Regions from separate parts of the Homo sapiens genome. Here all the other regions are linked to region 1. Evidence: promoter capture Hi-C in 16 types of primary human blood cells and fetal thymus (Javierre and others, 2016). All regions are on one chromosome and are shown on one strand. Each heading gives the region's core, a stretch centred on a gene start or on the middle of the fragment in contact. The rest is flanking DNA. Distances are from core to core; before and after follow the strand shown.

Region 1 (4,512 bases), core at 1,393-3,892:
TAATGTCATTATATATCTTTGAGGTAGCATAATGGGGTTCCAGTCTGAATAGTCCCTTACAAGCTATATGACTTTAGGCAAATCACATAACCTCCATGAACCTTAATTCCACATCTGGGATACAAAGATAACACCTTCTTGTTGCATGAGGATTAAATGAGTAAAACATACATAAAGCATCCCTCGTAGAATCCAGTACACTGCAGTTGCTCAGTAACATTAATTATCTCACCTACGCAATATTAAAAAATGTCAGTGCTTTTCGGTGCTAATATAATCTTATTTCTCAGAGCCTTTAGAATGGTTTTCTTCTTCCCTGCCAAACAACAGGGGTCTCTGATCATCCTTTTTCTGAATACGGAAAAGTATTTACTTATTTAACAAAATGACAATTGTTCTAAAGATCATGAGACTTTTAAGAAGTCTTTTACTTCTTGCCATCTATACTACTTATAATTATTCAAATACTGGTTAGGCACCACAGGGAAATAATAAAATATTAAAGCTGAAAGGGTCCTATGAAGGAAGTCATTTAACTCCCAGTTTTGACGAGAACAATTAGACCCCAAATCCACGCAACAAATCAGTAGCAGGGTCAGGATTAACTTGGATATTGACTAGTAATACAGGAAAATTTAATAGCTTCTTTTTAATTCATAAAACTAGATACTTACACTGCCATGTAGTCAAAAAATGCACCATCAGTGACCTCAGATATAGGCTTTTTTAAGATTTCTAGATCTGGAAGAGACTTCCAGTCAACAGAAGACCAAGAAGGAAGATCCCTCAACAAAAAGTATCTCCACAGAATTGGATCTCTTACAGTTTCATTCCAATAATGATTTGTACTTCCCAACTGACACAGATCATGAGGTGAAAGAAAGGACAAAATATATAGCTGTACATCAATCTGAAACAGAAGAAAGCAGCAGGTAGGAAAAAGGAATGAAGAAAATAGTTTTTGGGTGATAAACCACATAATCAACAAATAAATAACAAAAGGTCAACTGACTAGTATTTTTAATAACTAAATCTACCATTAATAATTAAATCTATTATTTTCCTGCTATCAGCAAAGGATCATAACTGAACATTTTAGTTTCGTAGTTGTTAAACATTTAATTTCTGAAACACCTGAAACATTCCTGAAAAAGCAACCACTGTCTTGCTATTTTTCCAGCAAAATCACCAGTTCCTTTAATTTTTCCTCAGAGATATTTGGATATACCAGTTAGTTACATAAATTAGTTAAGGAAATAATTTGTCCTTCAAAATAAAACCCATATCAACCTTTATCTGATTTTATCATCAGACCAAATCAAAGAGTGTACATTTGTCTTTTTCTTTTTTGAGACACAGTCTCGCTCTGTCGCCCAGGCTGGAGTGCAGTGGCAAGATCTCGGCTCACTGCAAGCTCCGTCTCCCAGGTTCACGCCATGCTCCTGCCTCAGCCTCCCAAGTAGCTGGGACTACAGGCGCCTGCCACCAAGCCCGGCTAATTTTTTATATTTTTAGTAGAGACGGGGTTTCACCGTGTTAGCCAGGATGGTCTTGATCTCCTGACCTCGTGATCCGCCCACCTGGGTCTCCCAAAGTGCTGGGATTACAGGCGTGAGCCACCGCGCCCGGCCGTAAATTTGTCATCTTAGTTCCTCTACAGAATCTATTAAAATGTTATGAAAAACCTCTGCAAGGAGAAACTTGGAGGCATTCTAAACCTGCAGCTTTCACGTTGATATACACATTGGAGAGAGGTGTCAATAGTCCAAATGAGACAAAGAATTGTAATAATTTTCAATAATTTTTGTTCTCTTCATTTACCTATCTACCCCAAAGTTTAACAATAAGTTATGTGTGTCATTCTCGTGGCCTTGATGTAACTTGAGGCACTTGTAACTTAAGTCATTTATTTTCAACTGAGGGGCCGTTTTGTTTCTTCAAATACACAATAACAGCCACAGGCACAATGTCCTCTTGAGAGGGTAAAAACCTTGGCCCTCCAAGTGTTTTGGTACAGTGATCCGGAATCAAAGACGCTGGGAACAGGGACGCTGGAATGCTTTCCCAAGCTAATCAGCAAGTTGGGAACTGTCTCATTTCCGTAACCGGACATTCAGGGTGTCCTAGTCACATGTGCCTGTTTTGGCGGGTGGAAAACCTGAGGGCGATCGGGAGGGTCCCCAGGGGCCCCATGAAGGTGCTTCCCTGAGATGTTCGGGCCCCCTGCGGAGCACCAGGGTCCACGCCAAGACGCTTCTGATCAACTGTAGCTTCTCGGTGACTACACTGCCAGGAATGGCTGCATGGACGGAGCCAGACCCAGGCCGGGGCGCGAGAGTTCCCCAGGCCCCGGGGGGCTCCAGGGGAGGTCCCTCCGGCCCGGGCCGGCCCCACTGTCCTCCGCGGCCTGCGGCCGACGCTCACCGGCAGCCGCGTCAGGGTGCTGGCCGCCTCATCCACCTCCTCCCGTGAGGTCGTACGCGCCACCCTCTCCTTGCTCACTGACTGCCAGAAGGTCTTCCAGCCGCTGAGGATGGCCGCCTCCAGGCGGCCCCAGTCGCTGAAGGGCGGCGGCGGCGAGTTTGTTCCGCTGCGCGGCTCGCTTCCCGCCATGGCTTGCCCGCAGCGTGGGTGACGCGTCTTAGAGCCACGCTAGCGCGTCAGCCTCCTGCGCAGCTCCGCGCCAGCCGAGGGCGCCCTCGGGCGTTCCGCCTCCCGCTTCTCCCGCGAGTCCGCCTCCAGGGCAGGGTTAGGCCCAGGGGCAAGGGCGGGTACTGGGAGGAAGCCCACTGTGCGTGGCTGTGAGCCGAGTACGAAGCTCCTGTCAACAATTAACTTCCCCAGTAACTTGTGGCCTCAACCTCAGCCACGCCAACCGCAGAGCCCCTGTACAACCTCTGGCCCGCTGACTTCCTGGCTTCATTCAAGATGTTCTCTCCGGGATCATTTCCACTATGCCTGGTCCTAGGCGACTCCGCTTGTTCGATAGACCTCTGCCACTGTCTTGGGCTTAATAACCACTTGCTTCCTTTTCAGCACTACCATACTACGTATGGGGTGTTTTTTGTGTGTGTTATTTCCTCAATCACCAAGTTACCATTTATTTTCTTGAGTATCAGCAAAAACAGACTAGAGAGGCAGTCAGCGGGCCAATTACAAAGAACCTTTTGCCAAAATGAGAAGTCTGGACCCACTATGCAAAAATATAAGCACATTTAAAATTTGCAAGGGCGGCAAAAAACGGCTAGAAGAACCCAGATGTGGTGGTGTTGAAATCCCACTAGTGAGTTTTTTAATTCTCAAACCAGATGCCCATTCTACTTACTTTGGGCTTACTTTAAAAGTGCTTTAAGAGAACGTATTACAAGTTAATCTGTTACATAGAACTGGGTATGTATACATTCAAAAAGTAAATCTCTGAGGATCTAAATGTCAACAGAATCCAAGAAAGCCTGATAACTAAGGTTCTGCAAGGCTCTGTAACATACAAGTTTAAGTTTCATTACATTTTATTATTTGCATGTTGTTGGTAGGGGCCAATAACCAATAAAATTGCAGCCTCGTTTTTGGGAGGCAATCTGGACAAGGACCACGGATTAACCATATGGCATTTCTCATCACTTTCTAGGACACGATTTACTTTGAGAGCAAAAAACGAACTAGAGCAAGAAAAAAAATCAGTTCAAGTATAAAGTATTAAAATGATATCTGTTAAATGAATGAGAAAAACTTTATTACGGAAAATTTTGAACATTTATAAAAGGAGAGTGAATAATATGCTCCTGTGTGCCCAGTATCCAAGATTCCATTACCAACACCTGGTTAATCTTGTGCTGTTGCTATACTCACCTAATACTACACCCCCAATTCTGGATCCTTTTGAAACAAATCCCAGACCTATCATCTGTAAATATCTCAGTATCCGTCCCTAAAAAAAACAGATTTTAAGAAACAGACCACTGTACCTAAGCAATTTTAATTCATTAAAATCACCAAATACCGAGTCAGTGTTTAACTTCCCCATCTGCTTTGAAAATAATTTTTCACATTTGATTTGTTTGAATCATAGCCCAACAAGGGTCACACATTACGGATACTCTTAAAGCTTAAGTTTCATTGTATAGCTCCCCCTCCTTTATTTTCCCTTGATATTTGTTAAAGAAAGCAGGTTGGTCTTTCTGGACCACTCTGGACTTTCTTTTTTCTATATTCTTCTTCTTCTTTTTTTTTTTTTTTTGTTAGTAGAGATGGAGTTTCACCATGTTTTCCAGGCTGGTCTCGACCTCCCAGGCTCAAGTGATCCTCCTGCTGTGGCCTTCCAAAGTGCTAGGATTACAAGTGTGACCCACTGAACACGGCCTGCACACTATTAATGGCATCTCAATAGTGTCTTTAACACATTCGTAAATGGTATTATATACTGAGACTGAAAGCTACAAGTCATTCTCATTTTCTAATGTTCGGAGTGATCAGTGGTTTCACTGGGCTGATCCATTCAAATTTCCTGTAAGT
Region 2 (4,512 bases), core at 1,125-3,624, 950 kb before region 1:
CCTTAATTTAATCTAATTAACGTTTTTGACCTATGTGGGTTGGAGTCAAAGCACCACTTGAAACACGTGAGATGTTTTTCCCATAGGAAAGGGAAGTTCTATTAGCAGAAGAAGGAGGGGAAAGACATCTGCTGATCAGAAGAAAATAACAGATGTGATTAACACGCACTACATAGTTCTGCTTCCTGCTGTTTTCACTTAATGTTGTATACTCATCACTTTTTCATATCCTCAAAAATTCTTTGAAAATCTGATATTTTATTACCACACAATATTCTACTTTATATGGACAGTCTATTGGTTATCAATTGCTGCAAAATAAATTACCCTCAACAGCGTAAAACAACAAAAAATCTATTATATCCTATAGTTTCTCAGTGTCAGGAATACCTGAGTGGCTTAGCTGGGTAGTTTTGGCCACATTCTGTCATGAGTTTGCAGTCAAGCTGTCCGCTAGAGGGAAGATGTTGGTCAAAGGGCACACAATTTCAGTTATATAAGATAAATAAGTCCTAGAGACCTACTGTACAGCATAGCACCTGTAGTTAAAGATACTGTATTGAATACCTAATTTTCTAAGAGCATAGATCCTAAATGCTCTTATCACAAAATAAAATATAAAATAAAAGAGGCTCCTGCTTTTTGTCTTTCCACATTCTGCCCCAGGCCATCTCCCAGGCCCTGGGAACATCTTTGGCTTGTGCAAGAGCAGATCAGAAGTGCCAGGGGTTAAAGCCCTTGAGACCAACCCTTGGGAGAATGGTGTTGGAGTATTTGCTCCGCCTTCCATCTTTCAGGTGAACCATTCAGAGAAAGTCTGTACACCACTCAGAAGTCCCAGCAGAATTGAATCTCCATTGCTGATGGCAGGGACCTCAGTAATGCATCCTTACATGAGCTCTCCCTGCTTCCTCATGTCCCTCTCCAAGCTCCCTTGACCTGGTTCCCTAGTAGATCTTTTTAAATAAACTGCTTGCACCTAGTCCTTGTCTCAGGGTTTGAGTTCAAGGAAATACAAAACAAATCACCCTTTAAAACTATTTTTAAAAATTATATGGCATCAATATTTCAAACAGTTATGTAGCAACCATCTTGTTGAGCTAAACTCAAAGTCCCAGAAAAGGGAACAAGGATTCTTTACTGTCATACTAAGTAAATGTAATATTGTGTACATACCCTGTCTTACTGTGTTTTTGAATTAGTTAAAAGCCATCTCCATATTTTCTTAAGTAAACACATTATAGCCAATTGCACAATAGATGCTAACAGAAAACATTACTTTTCAGATATGGAATGTTCTAAGCAATATATTTCAAAGATTGTAAGAGATTTTCCTCCAAGAAAATGAGAGTAATTAAAATCCTCCGTATTTGGCATCCTCTTTCCTGGGATGATTAAGGCCTCCAGCTCTTGGCAGGTCAAGCCATTAAGGAAATCTGTGTGGCCATTTGAACAGGAAGGATTATACACTGACTACAGTTATCACTGGTCCAGAGGTAGAACATGCCAAAACTACTATTCAGGATAATTTTGAACTTGCTGATATGTCAATTTCAGTAAACAGAGTAACAAAGGACAGCCTGAAGTTTCCTGGGCTGGTGATGTGTGAACCCCCACGATTCTATGCAAGTCCAATTGCTAGAGAAGTGGCTTCAAATCAACTCTAAATTACTTTGGGCATATAGGAGGAGGGGAAGGAAGATGGCTACTCCATTAGTCCTCTTTATCCTTAATTTTTACAAATTGTGTGTATACTTTACGCAGTAGAAATTTACACTACAAATTCTGAATAAATCAACATGCTATCATTGTTTACCATCACTATAAAATGGTGGAAGAGTAAGTCCATTTATTCATGCAGAGATGAAACAGTTTTAAATTTATATTTTAACCTCATTAAAATTCTCAACTTACAAAAAGAACTACTAGCCAATCTCTTAGCCCAAGTGTCTGTTAAAACACTTGTTTGTTTGGGAACTTAACTGAAAACACAATTCTCAAGGAAATTGGCAGAATTATAACTATAAGCTTATAGTGACTCAATATATATTAAAAAGTTAAGGTAAAAAATATAAGAAAATGCTAATATGTAAACACTGCAAATATTTTAGTGAAGTAGAAAATACTTCTATCATATAAGGAACCAGTCTAATTTATGCTTAGATTTTTCACATATTGAATTTTGTGGTCAATGACTAATTACTCTTGTTTCTAAAATGAATGACATAATTTTAGCTAAAAGCATAGAAACTTGGGGATCTAGCAAGCATTTGCAGCATTATAGTGAGCAAATGAAGATATGCTTTTTAGAAAACACTATCTTAAAGAAACTTCTCAGACTTTTATTGTTACTTTCAAGGACACCTTGAGTGTCTGAAGACTCTAGATTAAGATCCACTGGTTTGGCTTGCAGATTCTTTCTCTTGGAAATCTGCCTGGGTCATATGGTGCAAATCAAGGCTAGGGCCCTGGTAACCTAAAATGATCACCCTCCCAATGCCTGACTATCATAAAGATCATAAAACAGCCTCAGAGACGAGTTCATAGCAAAGTCCACTCTAGAGGCAATTCTCTTACAAGTGGATCCTGCAGGGCGATATGTTTGATTAGCATTTATAGACTGAAGTTTCCCTTTGTGAGGTCAGAGCTGGACTGTCTGCTGTTCCTGCCTGTGCTGAGGCCTGATCATCAGCTTGGCAGTAGGTCACCAGGAAGCTTTACTTTAAGTTCCAAGACAGAGAATTTTAGATTTTCTGCTTTCCAGACTACCCACCATCCCCATGGAAATGGAAATCCACTCCAAATCCCACCTAAACACACACACACACACACACACACACACGCACACACACACACACACATGCATGAGCAGAAAATAGACTTATTGATACACTTTCCTGAGCACAGGCCTACAAAATGCTTTTTCGTTTTTGACATCTAATGATTTAAGATGTGGCCTATACCTAGAGAAGAGCTAAATATCAGGACAAACATTCTCTTCTTTTTCCTAGTCTTTTCTTCTTTTTCATTGAAAAAGCTAAATGCTGAATTCACAATTTTTATAGTGAAGCCAGCTTATCTTTTTCAGATCCTAACACTCAGACTCTTAAGTAGCTGGCTTTAGTTCTTAAAATAAAATTGGTAACTTTTTTCTCCTAACTCACCTTTTTAAAAAAACACCCCAAAGGGAGTTCTTTTTGCATTTTGGGCAATTCACTTTAGGATTACAATAATTCAAAAAATGTGTGAATATGTATCTTGGTCAACAGAATAGCATCTGGAATTCCAGCATGCAACCTGTCAGTGTAGCAGAGACATCTGGTTTCTGTGTAACCGTAGTGTTTGTTTAGTTTTCTTAACTCTACGGTGGACAAAAGGTCTGTTGCTATAATTTGATACTGAAAAATTTTCAGGGTTAGCTTTCTTGCTCGTCCCTTCCTTTTTTTGTCTCTATTTTATTTTTTTAAGTTTAGAGTCATAGTACGAGGATTTTCAGGGATATTACTGATATGACTGCCCCAGCAAGAACACTACCATCACAGAGATTCTGCTTTCATCCCAAGGACAACTCTGATGCCTTTCACTTTCTGTGCTCTTCCTACTGGCTTTGAGTCCTCAATGGTTAGAAGGTCACTTGCTTTAAAGAGAACTTGATAAAACAGCCAAGAGGGACTCAAAGGTTTGAGCTCTCTGTTTCCCTCTGGTCTTTGTCCCAGACCCCTCCATATGCTCTTGAGTTTAGCAGGCCTCTGAATTACCAAATACACAAAGCTAACCAATCTCCACTTTCTCCTCCTCAGAAGGCTCTTCTTTCTCAAGCCTTCTGGACACTTTAGCCCTTTGCAGCAGTCTGAAGTTCAGTGACTGATCACAGCTTAATTAATGACAATATTAAGCAACATTGAGCACCTGTGGTGTTGGAGGCACACACTATGTTGCATGCTATCTCTTTTCATCCTCAAGGTAACTGATGTAGAGTATTATTTTAATTGGTGAACCATGAAGCTGAGGTTCTGTAAAGTTCAGTTGCTTGCCCAAGATCATTCAGCTATTAGAGCCTGGATTTGAGCCCAGGCATGTTCAATTTCAGTCTTGAAAGTTAGTTCACTTTAAGAATGACCACTTTACCCAGGGATTGTAGTATAAGTACCCACATGCAGCATAATAAAGTAGAATAAAATTCTGTATTCAGGTCTGGACTGTGCCATCGCTTAGGTGTGTAATGGGGGCAAGTCTCCTAACCTTTTAGAGTACCAGTGACTGCTTTACAAGGTGAAGGTCAGTCACATCTAAGGCCCCTCACCACACCGAGGTCCTGGTATTTCCTGATTCTAGACAAAGGGAAGAAGGAGGAATTAAACCTGGGTTAGGGAAAGATTAAATCATGGAGAGAAGGGAGATCAGGATTTCCTGTAAACTTGGAGGTTGAGCCTGGACACTGCATATGTAGATGAATATGTGTCTGAGGCAGAGCGTGGACAAGTCTGACTACATTGCCTAGGATGATTACCT
Region 3 (4,512 bases), core at 1,436-3,935, 880 kb before region 1:
GCAGTGGCGCGATCTCGGCTCACTGCAAGCTCCGCCTCCCGGGTTCACGCCATTCTCCTGCCTCAGTCTCCCGAGTAGCTAGGACTACAGGCGTCCGCCACTACTCCCAGCTAATTTTTTGTATTTTTAGTAGAGACGGGGTTTCACTGTGTTAGCCAGGATGGTCTCGATCTCCAGCCCTTGTGATACGCCCGCCTCGGCCTCCCAAAGTGCTGGGATTACAGGCGTGAGCCACCGCGCCCGGCCTAACCTCTAGTTTAAAACATCTTTTGAAGATCGATGTTGCTGCCTTTATCTAGAAGAGCTTTAGAAATTAAAAATCAATGTATCGTATTTCAGTTACCACCAAATGACGTTGCATGGGCATAAGTGCTCAAAAAATTTAGTCAACACAAAAAAGCAATGTTATTGTAGTAACCTGAACATGTTAGCACAAGAACATAAAAATAGCAAAGCTTACCCACAGCATTACTTGGAATGGAACTGGGGCCAGAAACTACTTAATTTATTGAAGATGCAAGGCTATCAGATTTTTCCTGAAGCCCTTCCACTGCCTGCCCATCTGCAGTCTGAGTTTACTTCAAAATGGAGTAAGTTTTCTACTCATTACTGGTATTTATTTCCTAACAACCATGAAAATATTTCTTCTTTGTTATGAGAAGAACTATATTTAAATCTTTTTTAAATAAAAAAGGCACTCAAAGAATTTAATTTGTATTAACTAGACTTGTTTTCCTTCATAACAAAAAGGAAAATAATTCTAAACAATGTTCCATTGAGAAGTCAGATTGGGAAAATTTGAACTTAGGTTTAAAAACAATTCACAATTTTATCTGTAAGTTGTATTTCCTTCAGATTTTCCCCAGGTCTAAAGAAAGCCGCCTCAAATTTTTAACGAATTTAATTAATTAATTTAGTTGTTAAGGAGTATAAGTTACTTACTCTAGTTATGTAATTTTCACATTTTAATCTTTATAATGATCTTTTGAGGGTTATTTTACTATTTTTAAAGATGAGGAGACTGAGGTAATGGAAGAAAATACTAAGAGTAATGAAAGAAAAGTACTAACTCAACCTATACTAAGCATTTAATAAATACTAATTATAATGATTCCTCATATTTTGGGATTATTTCTGCATTTCTCATTTGTGCAAATGCTTGCTAGTTATAAATATACCCAGTTATATTGAAAAAGGCAGTTAATAGTTACCACAATATGCTTAAAATGTGTGAATCATCTGTAAATACAAATTACAGATCAGACACTATTAGTATCTGATATGCCAAATCCGATTGGAGTTTTTCTATTTCATTGTCTCCTAGATACCACTGATTATTTGACATATTATCTTATGTAGTATTTAGGAAAAAAAAATGCTGCTAATTAAAGTAGGATACAGTGAGAAACCACCACCAACAGTATGGTACATTCTAATTTTAGAGATATTAAAATCTAAAGAAATATGCATCACATAATCAGTAAAATATAGTAATTCGTTTCTGAAATTAGACTACTGGCAGGGTGCGGTGGCCCACGCCTGTAATCCCAGCACTTTGGGAGGCCGAGGTGGATGAATCACGAGGTCAATAGATCGAGACCATCCTGGCCAACATGGTGAAACCCCATCTCTACTAAAAATACAAAAATTAGCTGGGCGTGGTGGCACGTGTCTGCAATCCCAGCTGCTTGGGAGGCTGGGGCAGGAGAATCACTTGAACCTAGGAGGCGGAAGTTGCAGTGAGTCGAGGTCGTGCCACTGCACTCCAGCCTGGCGAAAGAGTGAGACTCCGTCACTAAATAAATAAATAAATGAAAGAAATTAGACTACTACCATAGGTATTTGTGTTTGTTTAAACCTTGAACACTTTGAACATTACACAGTATATTTTAAACATGTATCAAATTCTTTATAAGTTTGTAAGCAAACATTATTAGCTTCTAATGTAGAAGTAATTCAGAAATAACCAAATAAAGTACCACTTAGTAGTTGTATGCTAAAATTTAATGGAATTTATAACCTTTTAAAACCTTCAAAACATCAAAAGCATATCACTTAGTGAGTCTTTGGGTTCTAAGTTGATTTTGTAATTTTATTTGCAAATTAGCCTTAGGTTGAGATTTACTGTTACATTTCTGTATCTATAGGCTTTGAGTCTCTGATTAGTAGGTACCACAAAACAGTAAAGACTTCCAGTAAATTAAAGAACTAGGATCATGCGGAATGGATATTATGGTCAATGGGAGTCGGGCAGTAATTTGCTATTTTCAGCTGACAGCCTTATGGTAGGGAGACATTAGCAAAGCTTTGGTGAAGTTCAAAACATTTCCTGGCATAGGATGAAGTATGAAAAACTAACACATTTGAGCAGAGTTTATTAGCATTTTTGAATTATCAGAGATAATATTAGATTACAGTATCATATAGTATTAGATAAGATGCACCGTTGACACAGGTACAGAAGTTTCCATATAGTTCAACTGATTTTTTATTTATTTTTTATTTTTTTGAGATAGGGTCTGACTCTGTCACCCAGGCTGGAGTGCAGTGGCACCATCTGAGCTCACTGCAACCTCCATCTTGCAGGCTCAAACGATCCTCCCACCTCAGCCTCACAAGTAGCTGGGACTACAGGCATCTGACACCACACCCAGCTAATTTTTGTATATTTTGCAGAGACAGGATCTCGCCATGTTGCCCAGGCTGGTCTCCGACTCCTGAGCCCAAGTAATCTGCCCCCCTCGGCCACCCAAAGTGGTGGGATTACAGGCATGAGCCACCATGCTCGGCCCAGATCAACTGAATTTAGGATTTGATATTACTTTGACTTTCCTGCAATCCAAGTTCCTTTTGCCAGTTTACTTCATTTGCTTCTGCAAATATAAGTACAGTGGTTTGGCTTTCTTTTTAAGCCTTTAATAAAATGTCTAGGTGTTGAGACTAACATCAGACTCTTTCTCATTAATATAATACAAAGCCAGCTCGATTCTAATTAACTAGTTGGAATTTCACATGTTAGCTCTACAAATCATTTTTCACGCATTATTCCTATCTCTATAAGCTTGTTAAAAAGTGATTTATAAATTTGTTCCAGACTCTCAAAGATGAAGACTTTTGTAAACGTGTATCTTTGGCTACTGTGGATAAAACAGTTGAAACTCCATCGCCTCATTACCATCATGAGCATCATCACAATCATGGACATCAGCACCTTGGCAGCAGTGAGCTTTCAGAGAATCAGCAACCAGGAGCACCAAATGCTCCTACTCATCCTGCTCCTCCAGGCCTTCATCACCACCATAAGCACAAGGGTCAGCATAGGCAGGGTCACCCAGAGAACCGAGATATGCCAGCAAGTGAAGATTTACAAGATTTACAAAAGAAGCTCTGTCGAAAGAGATGTATAAATCAATTACTCTGTAAATTGCCCACAGATTCAGAGTTGGCTCCTAGGAGCTGATGCTGCCATTGTCGACATCTGATATTTGAAAAAACAGGGTCTGCAATCACCTGACAGTGTAAAGAAAACCTCCCATCTTTATGTAGCTGACAGGGACTTCGGGCAGAGGAGAACATAACTGAATCTTGTCAGTGACGTTTGCCTCCAGCTGCCTGACAAATAAGTCAGCAGCTTATACCCACAGAAGCCAGTGCCAGTTGACGCTGAAAGAATCAGGCAAAAAAGTGAGAATGACCTTCAAACTAAATATTTAAAATAGGACATACTCCCCAATTTAGTCTAGACACAATTTCATTTCCAGCATTTTTATAAACTACCAAATTAGTGAACCAAAAATAGAAATTAGATTTGTGCAAACATGGAGAAATCTACTGAATTGGCTTCCAGATTTTAAATTTTATGTCATAGAAATATTGACTCAAACCATATTTTTTATGATGGAGCAACTGAAAGGTGATTGCAGCTTTTGGTTAATATGTCTTTTTTTTTCTTTTTCCAGTGTTCTATTTGCTTTAATGAGAATAGAAACGTAAACTATGACCTAGGGGTTTCTGTTGGATAATTAGCAGTTTAGAATGGAGGAAGAACAACAAAGACATGCTTTCCATTTTTTTCTTTACTTATCTCTCAAAACAATATTACTTTGTCTTTTCAATCTTCTACTTTTAACTAATAAAATAAGTGGATTTTGTATTTTAAGATCCAGAAATACTTAACACGTGAATATTTTGCTAAAAAAGCATATATAACTATTTTAAATATCCATTTATCTTTTGTATATCTAAGACTCATCCTGATTTTTACTATCACACATGAATAAAGCCTTTGTATCTTTCTTTCTCTAATGTTGTATCATACTCTTCTAAAACTTGAGTGGCTGTCTTAAAAGATATAAGGGGAAAGATAATATTGTCTGTCTCTATATTGCTTAGTAAGTATTTCCATAGTCAATGATGGTTTAATAGGTAAACCAAACCCTATAAACCTGACCTCCTTTATGGTTAATACTATTAAGCAAGAATGCAGTACAGAATTGGATACAGTACGGATTT
Region 4 (4,512 bases), core at 1,473-3,972, 850 kb before region 1:
GCCACTACAGAATTAAGGTATGTTCAATATAAGCCAAAACTATACATTAGAGCCAACAAAAGGCACTGTTCAATAGCTAGCAAGCTTACTATAATGTAAGATGAGTCTCTTTGAATGCAAGCTGAACTTCTGTTTCCAAAAATTATATAAATATTCCTAATTCCCAGAGCAAGATTAAGCATTACCCATGGTAAGTGTATGCTTTATGAGGAGGCATAGAGAGAAAGATGAGTTTGGGATTTGCAAAGTGCTTGACAGCTGCCTGAGATTAGCTTCTTAGGTTGTTGAAGGATAGGGGTGATTTATTATGCTAAGAACAGGGAGAGGAGCATTGAGAGTGGTGATGGAAGACAGTTATTTTACAATTGTGAAGATAAATTTTACAACTTTACCGGGGGTATGGTCCTACATGAAGAAATTATTCAGAGGCCTAAAATGTAGGCAAGAGAAAAGGAAAGCAGGAAGAATAAAAGTTAAGTATGATAGTAATAAAAAGGCAATAATAAAGGCAAGAGGTCAATAAAAGCCTCTAATACCTAACAGCTGGGACTCACCATTGTGTTCCCAACTCCTTGTGTGTAAATACATGTATATATGTGCACACACATATATCTTGATATATATTTCTTGAATGAATGGGAGTGCCAATAAGAATTATTTAGGTCAGAACTGTTAACCTAGAGCCAGTGAATAGGCTTTTGATCAACTTCCAAATTTTAAGGTAAAATTATACATGTATTTATTTGTGTGTGTGTATGTGTGTGTGTGTGTGTGTGTGTGTGCGCGCGCGCGCATTTTTCTCAGTGAGGATTCATAGCTTTTAATAGATATTTCATGGTACTGAGGAGGTTAAACAGTTTAAAACAGGTCAAGACACACTGGCTTCTATGCCCACAATTAAAAATTGGCATACATTCCTCCATATTATCTCAGTTCAAGAGATTTTGTCTGGATTCCTGTTTGTTCTACTTATCCTGCCAGGCAACTTGTAGGAATGGACAAAGCTATTCAACTTCTCGGTTCTAATTAAAACTGGGCAGGTGAACCCAGCTGGCAATCCCACAAATTGCCATTTTCTATATATCTAGATTTCTAGATGGGCAACTACAGAGCAGCTTTTATAAACTACTCCTGACAACTGTGTGCACTAAGCTGTTGCTGCTCTGAGAAACCACAAGAGACAAACCTATGTACCTTTCTATTCTCCACTGATTTTTGCCACAGGAAGATGTCACCAGGAAAGTGGAATGCTGCCAGTTAATTCGGTGAGACCCAGGATTTGCATTTCAGCCTCCAGGCATGAAGACTATTCTATCTGGGTTGAGCCAAGTTCTATCCCACTAGATCTTCTCTTCCACTTTAGCCTGTGCCATTCCTAAAAAATGTAATCTTTTCATTTTTCTAAGGAGACTAATCCCCAATAGGTTACAATTGGTTGTCTTCTTTTCATATGCTTTCTGGGAATTTTAAATTCCAAGGAATAGCCTCCAGTTTCACTCTTGATATAAAAAACAATGATTCTCTCTATACAAGTTGCAAAATCCTTCTACTCTCACAAATACTGCTATTGGGTACCTCCTGAGTTTGTTCCTGGGGAGTTTTCTCCATGAATTTTAGATGTGTTCAGAGGTTTTGAATTAGCAAATCTGCGTTGTCATAGTTTGCTTTGGGCAGCCCCTAAGTAAGAAATTCAGACTCTTGGGTTGTGGTGTTTTCTCTTTAATTTCTTCCCCTCTGAACATTCCTGTAGTATTCTCAACAAAGCAGTATCCTAGTGCTTGAAGTTTTAGAAAGGAAAGCAGGTCAAATTTTCTCCCCCTGGTTCCCCACCCCAATTACAACCTGACTTTACCATCTATTTTTGAGATCTAGAGTCAATATATTAAAAGGATTGGGAAAGAATAAAGGGAAAAAGGAAAAGAAAGGGGGAGAAAGGGTAGGATTCATTTCAGAAATACTTAAAAACCATCTCAAAATTGGTGATGAAAAGCTAAATTTTCTAAGAGCATAGCCAGAATGCTACTTATTACTGTACAGGATTAACCAGAAGTTCTGGGCAGATTTCTTCAGAGGGTCCTCAGATGAGGAACCAGACTGAATTTAGAGAAGATTCTTCAAGTTGAAAGCTCCTATAGATTCAACTTGAGTTTTGAGGATCTTTTGTCTGCTAGAATTTGACATATTAGCTCTTGAGAGATGAGGAAGTTAGCATAATGAACCTCTCAAAGAGCAGAGGGAACTGACATTTATTTAGCATCTTTTATGCTTTTTACACGCTGTTCATGTGTTCTACAACTGCTGTCACTACACTGTTCCTACAGGAGATAAGGAAAAGTAGCAGAGGGTATGGTGGCTCCTGGGAGAGAAATAATTTGTGATCCACATGAAATGCCCCCTGTATTGGAATGGTGTAATGATTACCCAAATCATAAAGAGTATAGATTCATTTACATTATAATAAGAAAGTTCACAAGTAGTAACAAATAGAGTTTACTAGAGTAAAACCTCTATTAACATAATTGAAAATTATGTAGCAAAATAACTGCATCTCTTTTTGGTAGAAAGAAAAAGTAATGCAAGTTATTTGTTAGTACATTATATTTTGTAAAAAAAAAAAACTCTTAAAACTAGTATTGCTTTGAAAACAAATTGTCATTTACTAAAGATTTTGGCATATATACGTATATCTCCACACACACACACACCCACAAACATTTGGCTGTGTTTATTAATTTAAAAACCTCTTTTTTTTTCCTAATTTGAAAAGATAAATCTCCACAGGGACTTGACTGAATAGAATGATACATAAACTCACCTGTTCATGAGACTTTAACTTCTCTTTTATAAGATCAGCACTTATTTTTAGTTGTTCATTTTCACCTGTGTAAGAATAATCAAAGAACATCATAATATATAGCACTTTTCAATTAATATGAAAATATGTTCAACATTTTAGCTTCCATTATGTATGCATTCAACAAACATGCATCCAGCAGCTGCTACACTTCAGGCACCATGCTAGACACTGAGAATATGAAAGTGAAAAGAGTTACTGCTCTTCAAAGAACTTACAGCCTAGTGCTGAGTCAAATGTGTTAGTAGTTATAATATGCTATGATAATTGCTCTTTAATGGCAGTATATCTGAAATACTACAGGAACCTGTAAAAAGAAAACCTAGGGCAGCTTGAAGTCAGGAAAGGATTTAGAGAAGAGAAGCTACTTGAGACGAGATTTAAGTGATAGGCTTACCCCATGTTAAGAGAGAGCATTCTAAATGCAGAAAATCGCACAGAAGACCATGGGCTTGAGTGAATATAGCTTGGAAAAACTACAATTCACGTACGGTATTGTTGAAGTGTAAAGTGTGAGCAGGAGATGCTATATAGGTTGGGATCCTATCACTAGGTAGACATATTCTACATATTCTAGATGAACAATTTTGGATTTTGGTTTTAGAGGTTACAGGGAGTCATCAAAGAATTTTGAATAGTGCAGAAGTGAAATAATGAGAGTTACATGCTAAAACGATTATCTGGCAATGTGGATGATGAATGAGAGGGTTTTGACCCTAGAGGAATGGAGATCAGTAACTATAGGTCAAGTAAGAGATAACAGGAACCTAAATTACGTCAGCGGCAGTATGGAAAAAAGGAAGCAATGAGGAGAATTATTATTTAGATGATAGAATTACCTAGGAATTTAGTGACCCTTTAGATAGAGGAGGCAAAAGAGAAAGGGGGAGCCTTTTCTTTTTAGGTTTTTGGTTTGGGTAACTGAAAACAATACCTTAATATTTTTAACAAATTTTAAAAACCCTGTGGTTAATTTTGATTACTAAACATCCAGGTCGGTTTAAAACTGTAATTTCCTATTTGATTGAAAGTTTTCATGATCCTTATCACTGGCTAGATCAGTGGCTGTAAAGAGTCAATAGAAGTGGGAAAGAAGTCTTAGTTTCCTCCTTAGTTGCTCTTCCCTGTCTTTCCTCTGGGTCATCTCTTGGGGGGTGGAGACAGGAAATGAGGAGAGGTAAAAAATTCTCTATTTAACTTCGAGGTTCCAGTCCTTTAGGTGGTTGTAGCAAATATATGCAGTCTGGACTCACTCCAACATTTGGCGACTTTTTAGCAGATGTCACTAGAATATGGAAATATGTAGCTATTTTGTTGTTAATTGTGGCATGTGCCCTAGTCACTAATTCCTGGTAAACAGGAAAAGCCTCAATAGACATCCTATTACAATTTCCCCTCTACAACCTTAACTATAAACACAACCAAGAAGTAGTTAAACAAAACAACAAATCAGTAAAGATTTTTGACATTATCTGAATAATGCTTTTAGGAAGGTTTGTTTTGTGGTATAGTAAAGTTGAGAGGAGCCTTGGAAATAGAGTCCACTTATGAAACTATTGCAGAGGTATTAAACCACAGTATTAAAATTAAAACCTTGACTATAAACAAAACTAAGAATTAGCTAAACAAAACAATGACAAATCAGTAAAGATTTTTGA
Region 5 (4,512 bases), core at 1,210-3,709, 800 kb before region 1:
TAGGATCCAAAGCTTTTCCCCCATCCAGTAATGTTATAGGTTGCATTGTTTTGGGAACTCTGGACTAGTCAACATGGGTTTTCATCCTGACTTCATCACTCACTAGTTTATTAACTTTGGGAAAATCTCTTAGTTTTTACGAGCCTTTTTTCCCAATAAAATATTAAGAATAATATCTGACAAGCCTACAACACAGATTTCTTAAGTTTAAATGAAATAATACCTTTGAAAGTACTTTATAAAGTCCTTATATGCAAGTTTTTTTTTATCATATGGTACCATAAAAGGAAAGGTAACAATAAAAATCTTTCGACTTTGAATTTTTGACTACAGTACCATTGTCAAAGCCAAAGTGAGTATAATTTCTTCACAAATTATTTTATCCTTATAGAAAAAGCTGGTAACATCTCTTAATGCCCACAGAACAATTGTGTAAGGATTCTTTTCTAACAAGAGATCAACAAAATTGATTTCTATGTATTCCTACAAAGACTGCTTCCTGGGACTACTGTGAAAAAATCTATTATATTCGAAGTTTTTTTTTTTAACTTAGCAGGCAGCATTAGGAGTGAGTTATTTTTGTTCAGATAATAACAGATAAATATTATTCTGCAGTTTCACAGCAACATATGCTCCTTCTTATGAGAAGTGATATAAGCATTTCTTGGTGTTATAAGCTCAGATTTCATAGAAAAATGGGTGTCCTAAATAAGAATCAGAATTTTTTAATATTGGTACATTCCATATGTCAATCATTCTTTGGACTGAAAAAGGGAAAAAGTTAAAATCTGTTTCAGCAAGCATATAAAAAGTCACTGTCATAGAGAAGATAATGAATGCTCTAAGACATCCAGACTTTCAGAAAAATGTCATATCTGAGTTGAGTTGAGAAGAATCTGTGTTTATTTTAATCATGCAGCTCCTTCGCATTCAATTTTTAGGAAGTTTTATTGAGAGTAAAAATTTAATGACATCATATAAAAGGTTTTGTTCAAATTCACATTCATCTGAAATTTAATATAACTTTATTTTGTGCCAGGTGTGTTACTCTGCTTATACGGTTTTTCCTAAGTGTTAATAATATAATACTGGGTATTCTTTAACTATTTCTCATTATTAATTAGGAAATAATGTGTTAAATTTAAATGGATTTCTTTAAACTGTAGAAGCTTTAAAATGTCAAGATGCACTATGACTCTCCCAGATGGGAGTGTAGTATGAGATGTTTTCCAAATTTATTTGACCACAAAATTATCCATTCAAGGGCATTTTGGAGATAGATATTCACCAGCGTACATACTGGTAAATCTATACTAGCCGTTTGTCAGGTGAGCTACCAAAGTAATGTGATAAACACCATTAAACATGGTTCAGAAGAAAAAATCACTGATTGGATGGTGGGAATCAGAGGAGAGTTCATGAAGGAGGCATTAGAGCTGGGCCATGAAGGATGAAGGGAATCTTGACAGGCAGGGTTGGTAAGTGGGAGCTTTTTAGTTGAAGGAGGAGGCATGACCAAGAACATAGAGATGGGAAAGCACAAACTTTGTTCAAGAAATGGCAAGTGTCTTTTGCTACATATGCAAGGGGATCTTCTTAGGCTCAACCACACATTCCCCAGATTCACCATACTTGGTTCCAGTCTACTCAGAGGGATGTAGGACAGAAGGGATACAGCATCAGGCTTTCTGCTTTAGAGTCACAGTAATGATAACAGTGCATGAAGCAATCTAAACAGCTGTTTATATAGCTATCCAGAAGGTCTTTTCCTTCCTCTCCTCCTACAACTGGCAGCTCAGATTCAGAGAAGGTATTGGGCAGGTAAAGGAGTCTCCCAGGCTTAGAAGCTCTATGCCTCACTGGAGCCAGTTACTCTTGTTACATCTCCAGAAACATAGCTTCCAGAGTTTCTATAGGGGAAATGCTTAATTACAAGTCACTACACTCAAGTCCAAAGTATAACTTATCTCCAGGTGGTTATAGTTTCTCCCTATCCAGATGTCATTTATCAGTCAGAGATCATTTAAACTATGAGCAATGTTTCCCGTGTAACATAGCTGACATCATATGCTCATTAGATTTCCACAGCAATAGAGTTTGAATGTTAACCAAACATCAAATTCTTATTCAGAAGCTGTGCCCTTTACATCTAGGTCTTAAATTTTAAACTCTCAAAGGAGACTGGGGCAAATTATGTGGGATCTTGGATTCCAAACTAAAAAGTTTAGATTTAAGTAACTTCTGGTTTTTCTGGTCACTATTTCTTACCCTAAAACAAGCACATAACAAGACATATTTTGGTATACAAATATGTAAATATGTAAATATTATAGCACTTGAATAAAGTGTTAGTAGAAACTTTGAGAAATTGAAATGCTGAAAGATGTGTGTAGCCATTTTCAACACACCATTAATCTTCTGAAATAGAATTGTGTTATTTCAATCCATGGAAGTAGGCAGGCTTTCTTTTCCCTGTACTCCTCATATCTTAAAGCATCTATATGAAGAAGCCCTGAGGCTTCACTCCATGGTTCTTTCAGGTAATGGCTGCTCACAGGGCAGAGGGCAGCAGGTGAAGACATTTTTTTTTTTTAACATAACACTTGAGTATTATAAAAAGTTGTGGCACTTTGCATTTGACTTGCTGAAGCAATACGTCATTGTTTAGTAGGTTTATCAATGTCCTCACCAGATTCCTACATCTCAGAATCCAGTGCCTGCTCAGGAGCCTAGGGTTCAGCAGCTACCTCACCTGCATCCTGCCTCCTGCTGTAGGAATCTAAACTTCATGGCTCTCTCAGGCTCCTACACAACTTACCTAATCAGCCTTCCTCCCAAGCCTGACTTATTAGCTGATTCCCATGATAACAAGCAGCTAGTCCAATAAACTGACTTAGGCCAATGGGTGAATGGCAGAGGAAGAGCTGCTTTCCTTCCTTCCAGACAACATGCTCAAGCTGGAAATGTAAAGATAATGCTCACATATCACTCTCCCTCATCCAACACCCATGTCATTTATTTTCCATGATGCATCAAATACACAGCTCTATGAACCTTTGCCTATGGGGAGTCACAGCCTAAGGGGAGGGCCAAGCCAGTGGGATATTTCTGAGTTGGGCTTTTGTCTTCTCAAAAAATAAGGGAAGGGGGATATGTTTCCCTCTCTATATCTCAGCACATAAAAATCTCCATACCCAATGCTGATGTATTTGATCCAGTGGTGCTAAGCTCTCCTTACAATGATAATTCACAGTATACAGAGTGGTTTAGATCATTTTTATGTTGGTGTTTGATAACAGAAGCACACTATCAGGAATCCAAGAAAATAAATTTATTAAACTTTGAAGGAAAAAATCCACAGACATAAAGAGAGTTAAATATAAACTGCCAGACACAACTAGTCATACTAGTGAATAATGGCTTATGTGGCCACCAAAGTACCAAAATGACATTCTGAGACTGATTGAGGTATTTAGCTATTTTTGGCTATAGAAATGTTGTCAGGCTGTTGTGAAATAGTAAGATAGTCTTCCAAACACACAGCTTTGAATTGAATTAGGTTCTACACTGATGATACTTTATATGAAACTAAATTATGTAGCTCTTGGAGAAAACCATAGCAGCAAAGTAGCAGAAAATCTATCAAACATCTATTACAAATAACATGTTGAACTTTAAACACTCAATTCTAGCTTTTCATAGTCCTTCCTGCAAGAGAGAGAATTTAAAATTATCAGCCATTAAGCTTGCTTCCTAAAAAAGGTCTGCGATAAATGGGAAATACTATTTAAGTTAAAGCTAACTTCAAAGTTTTAAGCTTTTTTAAAAAATGAGAAGTATTCTTCACTGAGATGAGATTCTTCTTTTTCATAAACCTTTTCAGGAGATATCCCAATGCTCTCAAGAATGATGTTTAGGGCTGGGCACGGTGGCTTACACCTGTAATCCCAGCACTTTGGGAGGCCGAGTCGGGTGGATCACGAGGTCAGGAGATCGAGACCATCCTGGCCAACATGGTGAAACCCCGTCTCTGCTAAAATACAAAAAAATTAGCCTGGCATGGTGGTGCGTGCCTGTAGTCCCAGCTACTCAGGAGGCTGAGGCACGGGAATCGCCTGAACCTGTGGGAGGTGGAGATTGCAGTGAGTCAAGATCGCGCCACCGCACTCTAGCCTGGCGACAGAGCGAGACTCTGTCTCAACAACAACAACAACAACAAAAATGAATGATGTTTAGGATATTAAGGGATTGCAAAATGATTTCTAAATTACTGAGGTTGCTTCTTTTTCTTCTGAATGCTTGCTTTGAGGCCAGTCCACTCAGAGAGGAAGTAAAAAATGATGAAACTTCTTCTTTTGCTATTTTAAATAAATCCTATAAAAGATTTAGTGAGAAAGAAAGTTTCTTTTAGCGGTTTAAATAATTTTCAGTTATCTGTGGGGACTGAAAACCTTGTTTCTTCTGTCTATGTTCTGTTCATTATCATGAAAAATGAGTATGTGTCTGGTTATA
Region 6 (4,512 bases), core at 729-3,228, 730 kb before region 1:
TGCCTCCAAGAGAGAAATAAATTGCCCATGGTCACACTACTGGTAAGAATCCATGCTGTGTTTTGCTGCCTCCATGAGGAAAAAATCATGGTCACTAAACTGAGATGATCTCTTAATGATTACTCTTATATATTTACTTCATATCCACCAACTGCTAAGCCCCTACCCAGTTTCCAAATGTCACATTTATAGAAAATGAACGAAGGTTGATCCTGAGCCCTAGATTCTATGACACAAGATTAAGACCATGTTCAGGGTTACAGTGATAAGAAAGGTCCCTGACTAGGCATTTTGTAAACTTATAAGAAACCAGAAAAAAAGAATCATTTTGAGTACTGATATTCAACTACATAATGGGCTCAAAATTCCTTGTATAATCAACATACTTTATTACACTAGATGGCAGCAAATAAGTAGCTAGATATATAGTCAGTTAATCAGGAAATGGAAAACAAAATGAAACTACACAGAGATTGGGTCTAAATTTGCTGGAATAAAGTAAATGTCCATGAGCATTAAGCTCTTGCATGCTCCAAAACATTCTTGAAGAAGGCATGATTGTATATATTTTTTAAATCAAGCTTCCTCCTTACACATAGTAGGGTGCTAAACAATGTGGTGAATTGCTGCAACTTTGAATTGTATAACTGCTGATTCCTCGCCAGGTAGGGCAATACAATATATATTTTCAAGATTTTTTTCTCTGGCCATCAGAGGCAGCATAATAATAGAGAATGGGGGATGGACAGGAGTGCAAAGATAGGCTTTAGAGGTGATGTTGCAAGATACGACATCAGGATTCACAGGACAGAAAAGAACATTAACAAGAGCTGGCTGTGAATATTGGCAAACAGGTATTTGAAATTAAATAAAAATAGAGGCTACAGTTTACTGTCTTCAAAATGGACCATGCAAGACAATCCACTGGGTAATGAGAAGATACTAAAATGTTTATTTATATGTGTTGTTTATATAAAATAGGAAACAAATGAAAGTTTTCTAATATTGAGCATGTAAGAGTTGCATAAAGCCTTCAGTCAGCCTGTGTCTGAGTCACATGTTGCATTTGCTATGAGAGGAATTTTGCAGGAAGAGTGGGAGTGTTACCGTTCAGAGGGGTTGTTTGTAGTATCTTTAGTTACCTCTTCATGTAACATGTTAGAACATGTTTTTTGCAGGTTCTGTATGACTGATTTTGTGGATAGATTATACTGATTTAAAATTGATTTAACTAATAATTGTATAACAAATAAGTGAGTTAAAAAGATTCATGTAAAGAAACTTCATACTGAAGGTAAAACTAATTATGCAAGCCCAAATCAACAATAAGAAAATGGCTGGGCTAATACTTTTCTTAACCCTAGAATAAGCTTTCATCAACTCTAACCAAATCTGATAAGCTGTCTTCCAAAATAGGAAATTATCCCAAAGACTATTTGAAATAAAGATCTACTCCTACTGCTGTTAAGAATGAACCTTTAACTTAGTATACATTGTGCTTTTTTCAGAAATGAGACAGTGTCTCATTTCGGTAGACAGTGTCTACTAATGCCAATTTTATATTTTATATTAAACCAAATTTATATATATTTTATGTTTGACAATGAACAGAATATATTAGAACCTTGTACATATATATAACTTACAAATATGTAAACATATGTATCATGTGTTCAAAAATTACTTTACTAATGGGATGTAGAATACAAATTTTAGTGACTTATGACTGAGCATAACCCCGTCATACATGAATGAATAAAATGAGGCAAGAGGCTTAGAGTCTGCCAATGTCACCACGGAGCAGCAATGTCCAAATTCTTATTATTCAAACACTTTCTGTTCCATTCTACTTTGCTTCCACATCTTCCTCAGGTTTATCTAATTAGGTAACATTTAGGTACACAAATCCAAGGCAGAGCCCTGGGCTCCTTATCCTCTTACAGCTCTCCAAGTGCCCTCATCCTGAAATAATTGCTCTGTTAGAAGCACAAAGGTGTGAAAAATATTAAAGGAGCAGCATCTGCCCGTCAAAGAAAATGCAACTATGTGGAAAGGAAGGGCCCAAATATTAGAGCAGAAAGACACTACAGGATAAGCTAAGCACTTATTCTCATAATGAAATATTTTTGGATGAACGTCCATAAAGCAAGAGAATTCCTAAAAATGTATTCGCTATTTTGGACTATATAGGAGAATGAGGAATGGCTTAAAAATGAGAGGTTGACTTGGGGCTGGAGAAGATAGTCTGGCATTCAGGGGCAGACACAAGGGGATGAGGGGATGAGAGGAAACCCTTTCAGATGAGGAGTTTCAAGGCCATGATAATTTACTTACATGTTGGCTCGCTTTTTCTTATAGAGCCTTGCCAAGTGGCTGCAATCAATAGTCTGCACAAACTAGGCTGCAATCATAGTCTGCATAAACTCTGCTAGAGTAGGTACGTGCTCTTCCTAAATGCCAGTGCTTGCAAAATGTGGTCTTGGGAGTCTGGTCCACCTGCAGCAAAACCACTGGGGTAGCTTGTTTTTAACATCAAGCCCCTGAACTCCACCTCAGGCTACTGAGTCAAACTCTGGGACAAGCTTAGGAAACTCCATTTTTGCCCCCTAGTTGATTTATATCTTTTTGGGTCTCAACTCTCAGGCAGAATGTGCTGTCTGGTAAGCGGAAAAGGAGAAAAGACAAGATCAGAGGCTCTGCTATTGGCCTAAGGTAATTAGAGGCTCACATTTGGAAGACAGTGTAATATTCATGTTATAAGATTTGGTGAGACGTAAAACAACTTCTGGCTTATAAAGGAAATTAAACACCAGAACTGGATAAGTTTAAGGAGAGATTACAAATCTTCATCTTGAAAAGAGGGACAACTTGTTTTGGGTCTTTCGGGACATGCATTTGCCTACATGGGGGGCAGGGCATTGGTACAGAATCAGTTACTATGTGAAACTATGTTCCATAAATAGAGACGTTTAATGCTCAAGAAAACCACAGAAGACAGTTTGTATTATTCTCATTTTATAGATGGGGTAAGTAAGACTCTGAGAGGTAAAGCATCTTACCTACATTCATTCAGTTAGTAAGAGACAACGATGGAATTTGAATGTGCATTCTGAAATTTACAACCTGTGCATTTTCACCTGCCTTGTCCTACTACCTGTCTGGTTCTAAAATTCAGGGTACCATTGGTTAAACAGATGAGGGAAAAAATAAAAGCATAGAAGAGATAGGAAAAAAGAGTGAATAGCTAATGTATCTGGCAAAAAGGAAATATGCAGTACTCACTGGGAGCATTTGATAGAACTAAAATAACTCTTACAACACTGGGGAGAAAAGGAATCTTTTTAAACTTATGACCTCATACCCTTGAAGTTGTAGGTCAACCAACAGGAAATATTCACTTGATTTGGACTAGAACACAGAGTTCGTATCTTAGAGGAAATTTTATAGGATCATCAACAGCGACAAGCAGTCAGGTCAGCTGTTGAATTTCACATCTTCCATGGACAGAGAAGGCTTAATATCCCCCTAGAGCAATGGTCTAGCACTGATTCAAGAAGCAATATCTCTCAATTAGAAGCCACAGATGCCACTTCCTATATCAACCAAGATTTTCTGAGTGGTCCCTTACCATTCCGTAATTATTAATGTAACTTTATTTATGGGCTCAGACAGGTCTTAGGACAGAAATTAAGTGTGGTTGTTATGCACTGTGCCAATACAGCTGAATTACATTTGTTACCATGCCCATAATACAACCTCACAAGCTCAATATGACTTTCTCTACTCTGATTTGTATTGGTGCTTTTTGATCAATGACTAGGGCCCGGATGAGCAAACCTGGGGTTTAGAACAAGATAGGGATGGCAGAAAGATCTGAGGTTTTGGGGTCAATATATCCTGAGTTTGAATCCTTGCTTATTTGATTCTAGAAAACTAATACGTTATCTTGCAGCCTGAGATTCCTCAAATTCAGTGAAATAGGGATGACAAGAGTAACCTTACTGAATTATTATAAGATAAACTCCAAAAAGTGCCTGCTTAATAAATGTTTAACATGTCTCATTCAGGAAATTCTGCTACTATTATCCACATACTAAAGCTCATTTTAACATATTTATGATGATAACAAGAGCCAATGTTTATTGGGCACTATGATCTGTCAGGCCCTGTTCTGACATCTTTTAGTATATGGTCTTGCTCAATTCTCCTAACCACAGTATGAGATGGGGGTTGATCGTAATCCTTTTGTAAAGATGAGAAAACTTTGGCCCAGAGATGGAAAGCACCATGCCCAGGAAGTCCTACTTCAAAGTTCACACTGCTTCTCATTATTCTAGAAGAAGATTTCTACATCAGGAGGATGTAAAGAGGCACTGTAGCACAGTAGTACAGAGCAAGGATGCTTGAGTCAGGATGTGTGGATTTGAATCAGGGTCCACATTCAGCTGTGTGTGATTTCAGCAAGTCACTTCTCTTCCTTGTGCCTCAGTCTCTTTATCTGTTAAAGAGGGA

Evidence for each region. Contacts are between HindIII fragments. The CHiCAGO score rates a contact against its expected background, and 5 or more counts as called.
Region 2: a fragment that was not itself captured here is called in contact with the fragment with the promoter of FBXO4 in region 1 in 4 of 17 cell types (erythroblasts, M2 macrophages, megakaryocytes and 1 more); the score reaches 8.7 in erythroblasts.
Region 3: a fragment that was not itself captured here is called in contact with the fragment with the promoter of FBXO4 in region 1 in 1 of 17 cell types (M1 macrophages); the score reaches 6.1 in M1 macrophages.
Region 4: a fragment that was not itself captured here is called in contact with the fragment with the promoter of FBXO4 in region 1 in 3 of 17 cell types (M1 macrophages, M2 macrophages and M0 macrophages); the score reaches 7.5 in M1 macrophages.
Region 5: a contact is called between a fragment that was not itself captured here and the fragment with the promoter of FBXO4 in region 1, in 4 of 17 cell types (M1 macrophages, M2 macrophages, M0 macrophages and 1 more). The highest score is 6.3, in M1 macrophages.
Region 6: a contact is called between a fragment that was not itself captured here and the fragment with the promoter of FBXO4 in region 1, in 2 of 17 cell types (naive B cells and total B cells). The highest score is 11.3, in naive B cells.

Annotation. Positions count from the first base shown.
Region 1 is chr5:41,923,411-41,927,922 of GRCh38, reverse strand. FBXO4 (F-box protein 4) reads right to left here and starts at 2,642. Exons shown (of 7, transcript NM_012176.3): 1 at 2,425-2,642; 2 at 675-910. The coding sequence starts at 2,613. RefSeq lists a silencer at 2,205-2,384. The HindIII fragment of the contact is 6,278 bases long and covers 1-4,107 here.
Region 2 is chr5:42,877,565-42,882,076 of GRCh38, reverse strand. No RefSeq gene overlaps it. Among named protein-coding and RNA genes, the nearest start is that of SELENOP, 68 kb to the right of the region's middle. The HindIII fragment of the contact is 687 bases long and covers 2,031-2,717 here.
Region 3 is chr5:42,799,914-42,804,425 of GRCh38, reverse strand. It overlaps CCDC152 (coiled-coil domain containing 152), which reads right to left. Exons shown (of 9, transcript NM_001134848.2): 9 at 1,987-4,512. It overlaps SELENOP (selenoprotein P), which reads left to right. Exons shown (of 5, transcript NM_005410.4): 5 at 3,095-4,512. The coding sequence ends at 3,706. Among named protein-coding and RNA genes, the nearest start is that of SELENOP, 9.7 kb to the left of the region's middle. RefSeq lists enhancers at 1-193, 194-694. The HindIII fragment of the contact is 756 bases long and covers 2,308-3,063 here.
Region 4 is chr5:42,777,826-42,782,337 of GRCh38, reverse strand. CCDC152 (coiled-coil domain containing 152) reads right to left here. Exons shown (of 9, transcript NM_001134848.2): 5 at 2,816-2,880. Among named protein-coding and RNA genes, the nearest start is that of CCDC152, 23 kb to the right of the region's middle. The HindIII fragment of the contact is 5,271 bases long and covers 87-4,512 here.
Region 5 is chr5:42,720,629-42,725,140 of GRCh38, reverse strand. GHR (growth hormone receptor) reads right to left here. Exons shown (of 10, transcript NM_000163.5): 10 at 3,263-4,512. Among named protein-coding and RNA genes, the nearest start is that of CCDC152, 34 kb to the left of the region's middle. The HindIII fragment of the contact is 2,576 bases long and covers 1,172-3,747 here.
Region 6 is chr5:42,652,751-42,657,262 of GRCh38, reverse strand. All of the region lies in intron 3 of GHR (growth hormone receptor), which reads right to left. Among named protein-coding and RNA genes, the nearest start is that of CCDC152, 100 kb to the left of the region's middle. The HindIII fragment of the contact is 1,212 bases long and covers 1,373-2,584 here.